2 separate regions of the Homo sapiens genome follow, and region 2 is linked to region 1. Evidence: promoter capture Hi-C in human tissues and cell types (Jung and others, 2019). All regions are on one chromosome and are shown on one strand. The core of a region is centred on a gene start or on the middle of the fragment in contact, and the rest is flanking DNA. Distances in the headings are between cores, read along the strand shown. Region 1 holds the start of PNPO (pyridoxamine 5'-phosphate oxidase). Region 2 holds the start of UBE2Z (ubiquitin conjugating enzyme E2 Z).

Evidence for each region. Contacts are between HindIII fragments. The study calls those that stand out against the background at their distance.
Region 2: a contact is called between the fragment with the promoter of UBE2Z here and the fragment with the promoter of PNPO in region 1, in 1 of the 25 tissues and cell types used here (dorsolateral prefrontal cortex).

The regions. Positions count from the first base shown.
Region 1 is chr17:47,938,983-47,942,827 of GRCh38, reverse strand. PNPO (pyridoxamine 5'-phosphate oxidase) reads right to left here and starts at 1,257. Exons shown (of 7, transcript NM_018129.4): 1 at 1,015-1,257. The coding sequence starts at 1,152. It overlaps SP2-AS1 (SP2 antisense RNA 1), which reads left to right and starts at 1,424. Exons shown (of 3, transcript NR_103857.1): 1 at 1,424-1,481. RefSeq lists an enhancer at 1,211-1,505. The HindIII fragment of the contact is 7,163 bases long and covers 1-3,845 here.
Region 2 is chr17:48,905,856-48,909,897 of GRCh38, reverse strand. UBE2Z (ubiquitin conjugating enzyme E2 Z) reads right to left here and starts at 1,491. Exons shown (of 7, transcript NM_023079.5): 1 at 1,078-1,491. The coding sequence starts at 1,394. It overlaps LOC105371814 (a long non-coding RNA gene), which reads left to right and starts at 915. Exons shown (of 4, transcript NR_135674.1): 1 at 915-959. RefSeq lists silencers at 703-832, 1,103-1,352. The HindIII fragment of the contact is 7,727 bases long and covers 1-4,042 here.

The DNA.
Region 1 (3,845 bases), core at 8-2,507:
CATCCTCCCAAGTAGCTGGAATTACAGGCACGCTCCAACATGCTCGACTAATTTTAATTTTTTGTAGAGACAGGGTCTCACTATGTTGCCCAGGCTGGAAAAACTGCATTTTAAACAAGCGTTTCTAGAAATGCCCACATGCAACCAGATTTGGCAACCAGGGCCCTGGACCCCAATTCCTAAAAGGTTCTCTTGGTTCCCCTCCTGAGGAGCGAAAAGGAAAAGAACTTCCCAGTGGTCAGCAGAAAGTACTGAAGGCAGTAAGCTAAGAGCTTTCTCCTCCCCTCCTCCCCGAGCTAGTCCCCTTCCCCCATATTCCACTTACTTTTTTGTCAAACAGTTTGTAAGCTGTTTGTCACTGTACCCACCTAAAGAGGGGCCCATGACCATGCCCACCTGGCACAAGGAGGTTTGGGTGACCCCCAAATCTCCTTGCCCCAGGGGGTGGCCCCAGAAGCCCTGAGGGGCTGTTTCCTCCTACTCCCCTCCCCCCAGTAGATGACTCCGAGGACCCCTCTTCCCCCGCCCTTGAGGGAGGCCCAGCACAGTCCTGACATCCATCACATGAAACCCCGATTCATTCATCACTAGCTGTGGGACTGAGCAAGTTATTTGACCTTGCTACCTGTCGAGTAGCAGGGTTCTAAGCACTTTACAAACATCTTAGACCATAACATCCCCGTGAGGCAGATACTATCACTTCCCAGATGAGGAAACTGAGGCCCAGATACATTAAACATTCCAACCCAGGCAGGCTCCAAAGTTCGAGCTCTTACCCATTACGAAAGGCTGCCTTTTGAACCCATCTTCATTTGCGTTTCCCCGGAACTCCTCCCCTGGTGGGATGTCTTTGAAGCCCCCTTTTCCCACGGGGGGTGATCCTCAAACCTCCTTGCCCCACCGGGTGGCCCCAGAAGCCCCGAGGGGCTCCTACTACTCCCCTCCCCGCTGTAGATGACTCCGGGGACCCCTTTTCCCCCGCCCCTGCAGGAGGCCTGGCCCTAGCGGCGGCACCTCTCGGTCCCCGCGGTAACTCTTGCGCATGGGTCCCAGGTCCATGGCAGCACTGCGACCACACAGGTGACTGAGGTAGCCTGGCCACTCGGCAGGTCGCCCGAACGTCGCCGTGACGCCCCGCAGCCAGCACGTCATGGGGGGCCGCCGGCCACGTGACCCGGCTGTGGCCCGGCACTGGGTTCCTTTGAGTTCGGAACCAATTTCTCACCCTGGACTTCTACCCCGGGGAAGGAAGGATTTGCCAGTCGCCCAACCAAGCTAACAGGTCCTAAGTCCTCGGAGCCAATGAGTTTCCAGGATCGGAGGAGGGAGACAGACACGGAGAGGTCATTGGTTGGAGCTTTTCGGTAACGAGGCCAATTAGAGCGAGAACAGAGGAACCCAGCGGCCAATGGGTAGCGCCTTTGGGGGCGGGAGCAGAGAGACAAGGAAATGCTGTCACCGCGGTTAACACGCACGTGGAGGTTGGTTAAAGGTATAGGAGGATCTCTTGCAGCTCAGGCGGGGCGGAGGATGTGTCCCGGGGGCTTGAGGGGAGTAGTCAGTATTAAGTGGCTGGCCCATAGTAGGTGCCTGTAGGTGAGCTTAGGGCAGGAAGTACCCCCTGGGAAGGGAGACTAGTGGAATGGGAAAAGAAAAATGGAAAATGGAATTAGGGGCCAGACTCTGAGGCAAGGTGATGGGGACACATAGAGAAAAGGGTAATCTGGTTGTGGGGAGAAATTAGGGCATGAGAGTGGGAGAGGTTGAAATGACTTGTGGACCATGCCCCGAGTGGGGAGGTGCAGTGGGGTGAGGAAGAGACGGTGAGGTGAGAAGGAAGATGGCTGAATGGGAAGGGGGAAGAAGGAAATTTGGGACCAAGGTATCCCAGACCAGAGTGGTTTTCCTCTTCTAGTTTTGGTTTTGTTTTGTTTTGTTTGAGACGGAGACTAGCTCTGTCGCTCAGGTTGGAGTGCAGTGGCGCGATCTCGGCTCACTGCAACCTCCACCTCCCGGGTTCAAGCAATTCTCTGCCTCAGCCTCCCGGGTAGCTGGGATTACAGGCGCCCGCCACCACGCCCGGCTAAGTTTTGTATTTTTAGTAGAGACGGTGTTTCACCATGTTGGCCAGGCTAGTCTCAAACTCCTGATCTCAAGTGATCTACCCGCCTTGGCCTCCCAAAGTGCCGGGATTATAGGCGTGAGCCACCGCGCCCGCCACCTCTTCTAGTTTTAAACCCCTTCCCTCCAGCCTCATTTATTTAAGCAAGGGTCAGAGCATTTTACTCCCTTTGCTCATGGTTTCCCCTGCCATGGTGCACTGGAGTTCATAGGAGCCAGTGTCCTGGTAGATAGCAAGGCTGCCAATGTCCCATTTCTCCAGGGTCTCCCCAATCTTTGTCAAGCTTCCCTTTTTCCACATTTTGCCCATGCTAGGTAGTAGGAGTCTAGCCCCTAGGTCAATGCAAGCAATTGCCAACTGAGAGTACACTGAGCAGGTGGCTGTGCATAGCCTTTCCAGGCTGTGGATGCAAGGCTGAAAAATGGGAAACCCACTCATGCCCAGTCCAATTCTGAGCTGGCTGGGGCGGCCTTGGGTCGAGACCTCTCTGTAGCCCTGCTTTCCACCAGCATCAGGAAGGGGAACTGCAAGAGCCATCTAGGCAGGCACCCAGGACTGTGCCAGGTAAGGGGAACTTCCTGGCCTGGCCAGGTGTCTGCATTACAGCTGAGCTTCATGAAGCCCTACATTAGATACCTGTCATCCTTTATGTGTACATAGCTTGAGCCAGATAGAATCTGGAAGACAATTTTGCTGCAAAGAAATAATACATGTCTCAAGGCTTAATGATATTGGTCTATGGATTCTCCACTGGTTGGATTTTTTTGTGCTGCCATCATTTTCCTCCATCAGCATAATTGAGAGAAAGTTGAGTAGATTTACTTTCCTGTTGAAGTTGTCTTTCTTTTTTTTTTTTTTTTTTTTTTTTTTTGAGATGGAGTCTTGCTCTGTCGCCCAGGCTGGAGTGCAGTGGCGCAATCTCGTCTCACTGAAAGCTCTGCCTCCCGGGTTCACGCCATTCTCCTGCCTCAGCCTCCCAAGTGGCTAGGACTACAGGCGCCCGCCACCACGCCCAGCTAATTTTTTGTATTTTTAGTAGAGATGGGGTTTCACCACGTTAACCAGGATGGTCTCGATCTCCTGACCTTGTGATCCGCCTGCCTCAGCCTCCCAAATGCTGGCATTACAAGCGTGAGCCACCGCACCTGGCCGAAGTTGTCTTTCTGTATAAGAACATTGCTGTACTCCTGCCCTCCTAAGCCCCTGCAGTTGAACCTGTGTAAGCAGTAGTGAGTGCACTTCAACTCAGATGGGTTTGGTTCATGGGTTTTTTTTTTTTTTTTTTTTGAGACAGAGTCTCCCTCTGTCACTCAGGCTGGAGTGCAGTGGCGCAATCTTGGCTCACTGCAACCTCTGCCTCCTGGGTTCAAGCCATTCTCCTGCCTCAGTCTCCCAAGTAGCTGGGATTACAGGCGTGTGCCACCACACCTGGCTAATTTTTTGTAATTTTAGTAGAGATGGGGTTTCGCCATGTTGGCCAGGCTGGTATGGAACTCCTGACCTCAAGTGATCCACCCACTTCGGCCTCCCAAAGTGCTGGGATTACAGACGTGAGCCACCGTGCCTGGCCATGGGGTTTTTCTTCACACTCAGCACTCCTGGGCTGCTGCTACCCTGGACCTGGATTCTAGGACACCAAGACTAAGATCATCTATGTACTTAAAAGCCAACAGCTCAGTATAGTGGAAGTAGATACATATTTATGTATTAATTCAGTAGACAT
Region 2 (4,042 bases), core at 242-2,741, 970 kb before region 1:
GTACTTTACACACATTATATTAATTTTTATTACAACCTTGAAAAGTAGACACAGAGACATCTGAAAGGACGTGGAACATGGGGAATAAGAACTAAACGAAGATGCTTGTGATGGGGGCATGGGGAGAAGTCAAACAGGTTTCAGGATTAATAGCTAAAGAGCACTGCCCTTTTCTTATGCGATAGGTACTATTCTATGTGCTTCTGGAAAACATCATCTACTAAATGATAGGATCTAAGATCAGTCACCCAAGAAATAAGCACAGAAAGGACTTAGGCCTTTGTTCCTATATTTGATGAGTATATTTGCTTCATAGAAGTAAAACAGACGACCCGGGGAGGGTGGGGGGTGGGGGGAGGGAAATTACAAGAAAGAAGCTCCTGAGTGGGATATTACAATCCAGAGTGGCACTGGGGAATTGGGGGGAGGTAGCCTGTGTTTCTGGAAGAGGCGTAAGAGTGGACAGCTTTGGGACACTGGAAAAGGGGTTCAAGGAAAGATTGGGGCGAGGGAAGCGATCTAGACCTGGGAAAAGACTGTGTGGAGGGAATCTGAGAAAAACGGAGGATAAAAAGAAAGGTTGGCTCGAGTCAGAGGCATGGCAAAGGAAGCTGAGTTCGTCTGTGTTAGGAACGGGGCTCCAGAGGAGAAGAGAGGGGACCGATGGGTGGGGCCTGCGGGCAGCATCTAGCAAGGTTGGGGTGGGGAAGGGGAAATAGGGGCGGCGCCGAAGGCGGGAGGGGGCGTTACTGAAGCGCTAAAGGGTCGGGTTTCCACCCGGAGGTGGGAGGTGTGGGGGAGGGTGGCCGGAATGGAGACGGAGGGCTCACGGGAGGTTGTCGAGGGGCGGGGTCGGATCTGGGCACACGAGGCGGGGGTTGGTGCTTGCGGGTCTGAGGGTGGGGGGAGAAGGGAGTTGGATCCCGACGCCCGGAGCTGGCAAGATTTGGGCCGTGGAGGTGGGCCGCCGCGAGGGCAGCGCAGTGGGTGGGGGGTGAGTTGTAGTGGGAGAGGGTGGGGGGCGGGGAAGGTCGAGCCCCGGAGCTCGGGGCTGGGGGAGGAAAAACCCCGGCTCACCGCTTGATCCGGAGTAGACACTGCGGCGCGGTGCGCTCGCCGTCCCAGTCGGAGCTGAGCGTGGGGTCCCAGTGGCTAAGCAGCGCGGCCCCGTGGGCAGCGGCTGAGGGCGGGAGCCCGGGCAGCGGAGCCAGGCCGCTCCCCGGGCCCCCGGCCCCGCCCGCTGCCGCCGCCGCCGCCCACACATCCGGCAGGAAAGGCGGCCCGAACCCGCCGCCGCTGCCGCTAACGCCAACAACACCAGCAACGCTGCTCGCCCCGGGGCCCGCCGCCCCGGCGCCCGCCGTTGCCGCCTCCTCAGTCGGACTCTCCGCCATCGCTGCTTCGCTTCCGGGACTACTCGGCAGCACGTCCGCCGACCAGAGCGGCCGCTGCTCCCGCCCGCTCCCGCACCACCGAGAACCGGGCCAGAGTGTCCCCACCCCCTCCGCTTCCACAGCCCAGACGGTGCTGGCTCCGCCCACCCCCGCCCCAACCAGCGAGAGGCGCTCTGCAAGAGCGTCCACCTACGGTCCTCCAGGACGGGAGGGGTGGGAACTAGCAGGCCGTGATGGTTCTGGGCTCGTGTGGGTCCTGCGCTGTGCGGAAGTAGCGGAGAGCCCAATTCAAGTGTTGAAAGGGGAGAAGAGAGGAGGGAGTGGGGGAGGAAGGGCCATATCATTCCCGTTAATGGCGGCGACCCTCAGACGTCTGCATGGTTAGGATTGGGGATCCAGCATCCTCATGGGAAGCTCAGTAGAGAAGTTGACTCGCTTTGGGCCCCTTCTCTCGGAAAGGCTCTGCGATTGATCCCTCCTGCACACTTGTGCACCTAGGGCAGGGTACCATTGCCCTTGCCTGCAACAGGACCAAGAGAGAACTCAACTTGGAATGAAAAGCTACCTCTTTTAGAGTTTATTCAACATATATTTATGAAGGGCCTACTAAATGCCAGTCACTGTTGCTAGTTGTTGCCATGGGGATAATGAAACAGAACTAGAGAAGCTTGGTGAAAGGAAGAAACATCAGGCCTCCTGACTCCAAGCTTAGTACTTTTTCTTCCCACAAATCTTGGAATATACAGGAATCGAGGTACTGTGAGTGTAAACCCTGAGGATTCTTTGGGTCTTTCCTAAAATGTTTAAAGTGAAAAATAATCTGCCAGGCTCGGTGGCTCACGCCTGTAATCCCAGCACTTTGGGAGGCCGAGGTGGGCGAATCACGAGGTTAGGAGTTCGAGACCAGCCTAACATGGTGAAACCCCGCCTCTATTAAAAATACAAAAATTAGCCGGGCGTGGTGGCGTGCACCTGTAGTCCCAGCTACTCAGGAGGCTTAGGCAGGTGGATCACTTGAACCCGGGAGGCGGAGTTTGCAGTGAGTTGAGATCACGCCACTGCACTCCAGCCTGGGCGACAGAGCCAGACTCCGTCTCAAAAAAAAAAAAAAAAATTCCTATGGACTAAGAATGACAGGGGCCTTCCTAAAAAACTGTTTTTCCTTGCCGGGCGCGGTGGCTCATGCCTGTAATCCCAGCACTTTGGGAGGCTGAGGCGGGCGGATCACTAGGTCAGGAGATCAAGACCATCCTGGCTAACACTGTGAAACCCCGTCTCTACTAAAAATACAAAAAATTAGCCGGGCGTGGTGGCGGGCGCCTGTAGTCCCAGCTACTCGGAAGGCTGAGGCAGGAGAATGGCGTGAACCCGGGAGGCGGAGCTTGCAGTGGGCGGAGATCGTGCCACTGCACTCCAGCCTGGGCGACAGAGCAAGACTCCGTCTCAAAACAAAAACAAAAACTTTTTTCCCTAGCAAAAATATAGGATCAATATTAACTGGAAACCAGTGGGGCCAGATGTATTTCAGACTTTGGAATGACACACCAAGCAAGGAGTGGGGCAGCGCCGGGTAGCCAAACCTATTGACATTTCTGCATCAAAGTGTATGAACATTCGTACCAAGTCAAATGAATAGCCTCACTTTGGATGTTTTGCCACCAAGTTTGGTTTTTTAAAAAAGAAGTCTGGGCCGGGCACGGTGGCTCACGTCTGTAATCCCAACAATTTGGGAGGCCGAGGTGGGTGGATCACCTGAGGTAAGGAGTTCGAGACCAGCTTGACCAATATGGTGAAACCCCGTCTCTACTAAAAATACAAAAATTAGCCGGGTGTGTTGGCAGGCGCCTGTAGTCCCAACTACTCAGGAGGCTGAGACAGAAGAATCACTTGAACCCGGGAAGGAGAAGTTGCAGTGAGCCGAGACTGAGTCACTGCACTCCATCCTGGGTAAAAGAGTGAGACTCCGTCTCAAAAAAAAGAGTCTGGCTTTAGAGTTTTTTTGTTTTTTGTTTTTTGTTTTTAAAGAGGGAATCTTGCTCTTGTCACGCAGGCTGGAGTGCAATGGCGCAATCGTGGCTCACTGCAATCTCCGCCTCCTGGGTTCAAACAATTCTCCTGCCTCAGCCTCCCCAGTAGCTGAGATTACAAGCATGCCTCTATGCCTGGCTAATTTTTTGTATTTTTTTAGTAGAGGCGCCTCTACGCCTGGCTAATTTTTTGTATTTTTTTAGTAGAGGCGAGGTTTCACCATGTTGGCCAGGAAGGTCTCCAACTCCTTTTGGAGTTGGATCAAGTCATCCGCCCTTCTCGGTCTCCCAAAGTGCTGGGATTACAGAAGTCATCCACCCACCCCACCCTTCCTGCCTTTTAGAGTTTTATGAATTTACAGTAATGGAATGCAGACCTGAAGGATAATGACCAAGATTTATGGAGAGCTAAAGATTGATTTGTTTTGAGACAGGGTCTTGCTCTGTCACCCAGACTGGAGTGCAGTGATGGGATCACAACTCACTGCAACCTCTGCCTCAGCCCTCCAAGTAGCTGGGATTACAGACACGTGCCACGATGCCCGGCTAATTTTTGTATTTTTCTGTAGAAGCGAGGTTTCACCATGTTGCCCAGGTTGGTCTCGAACTTCTGGGCTCAAG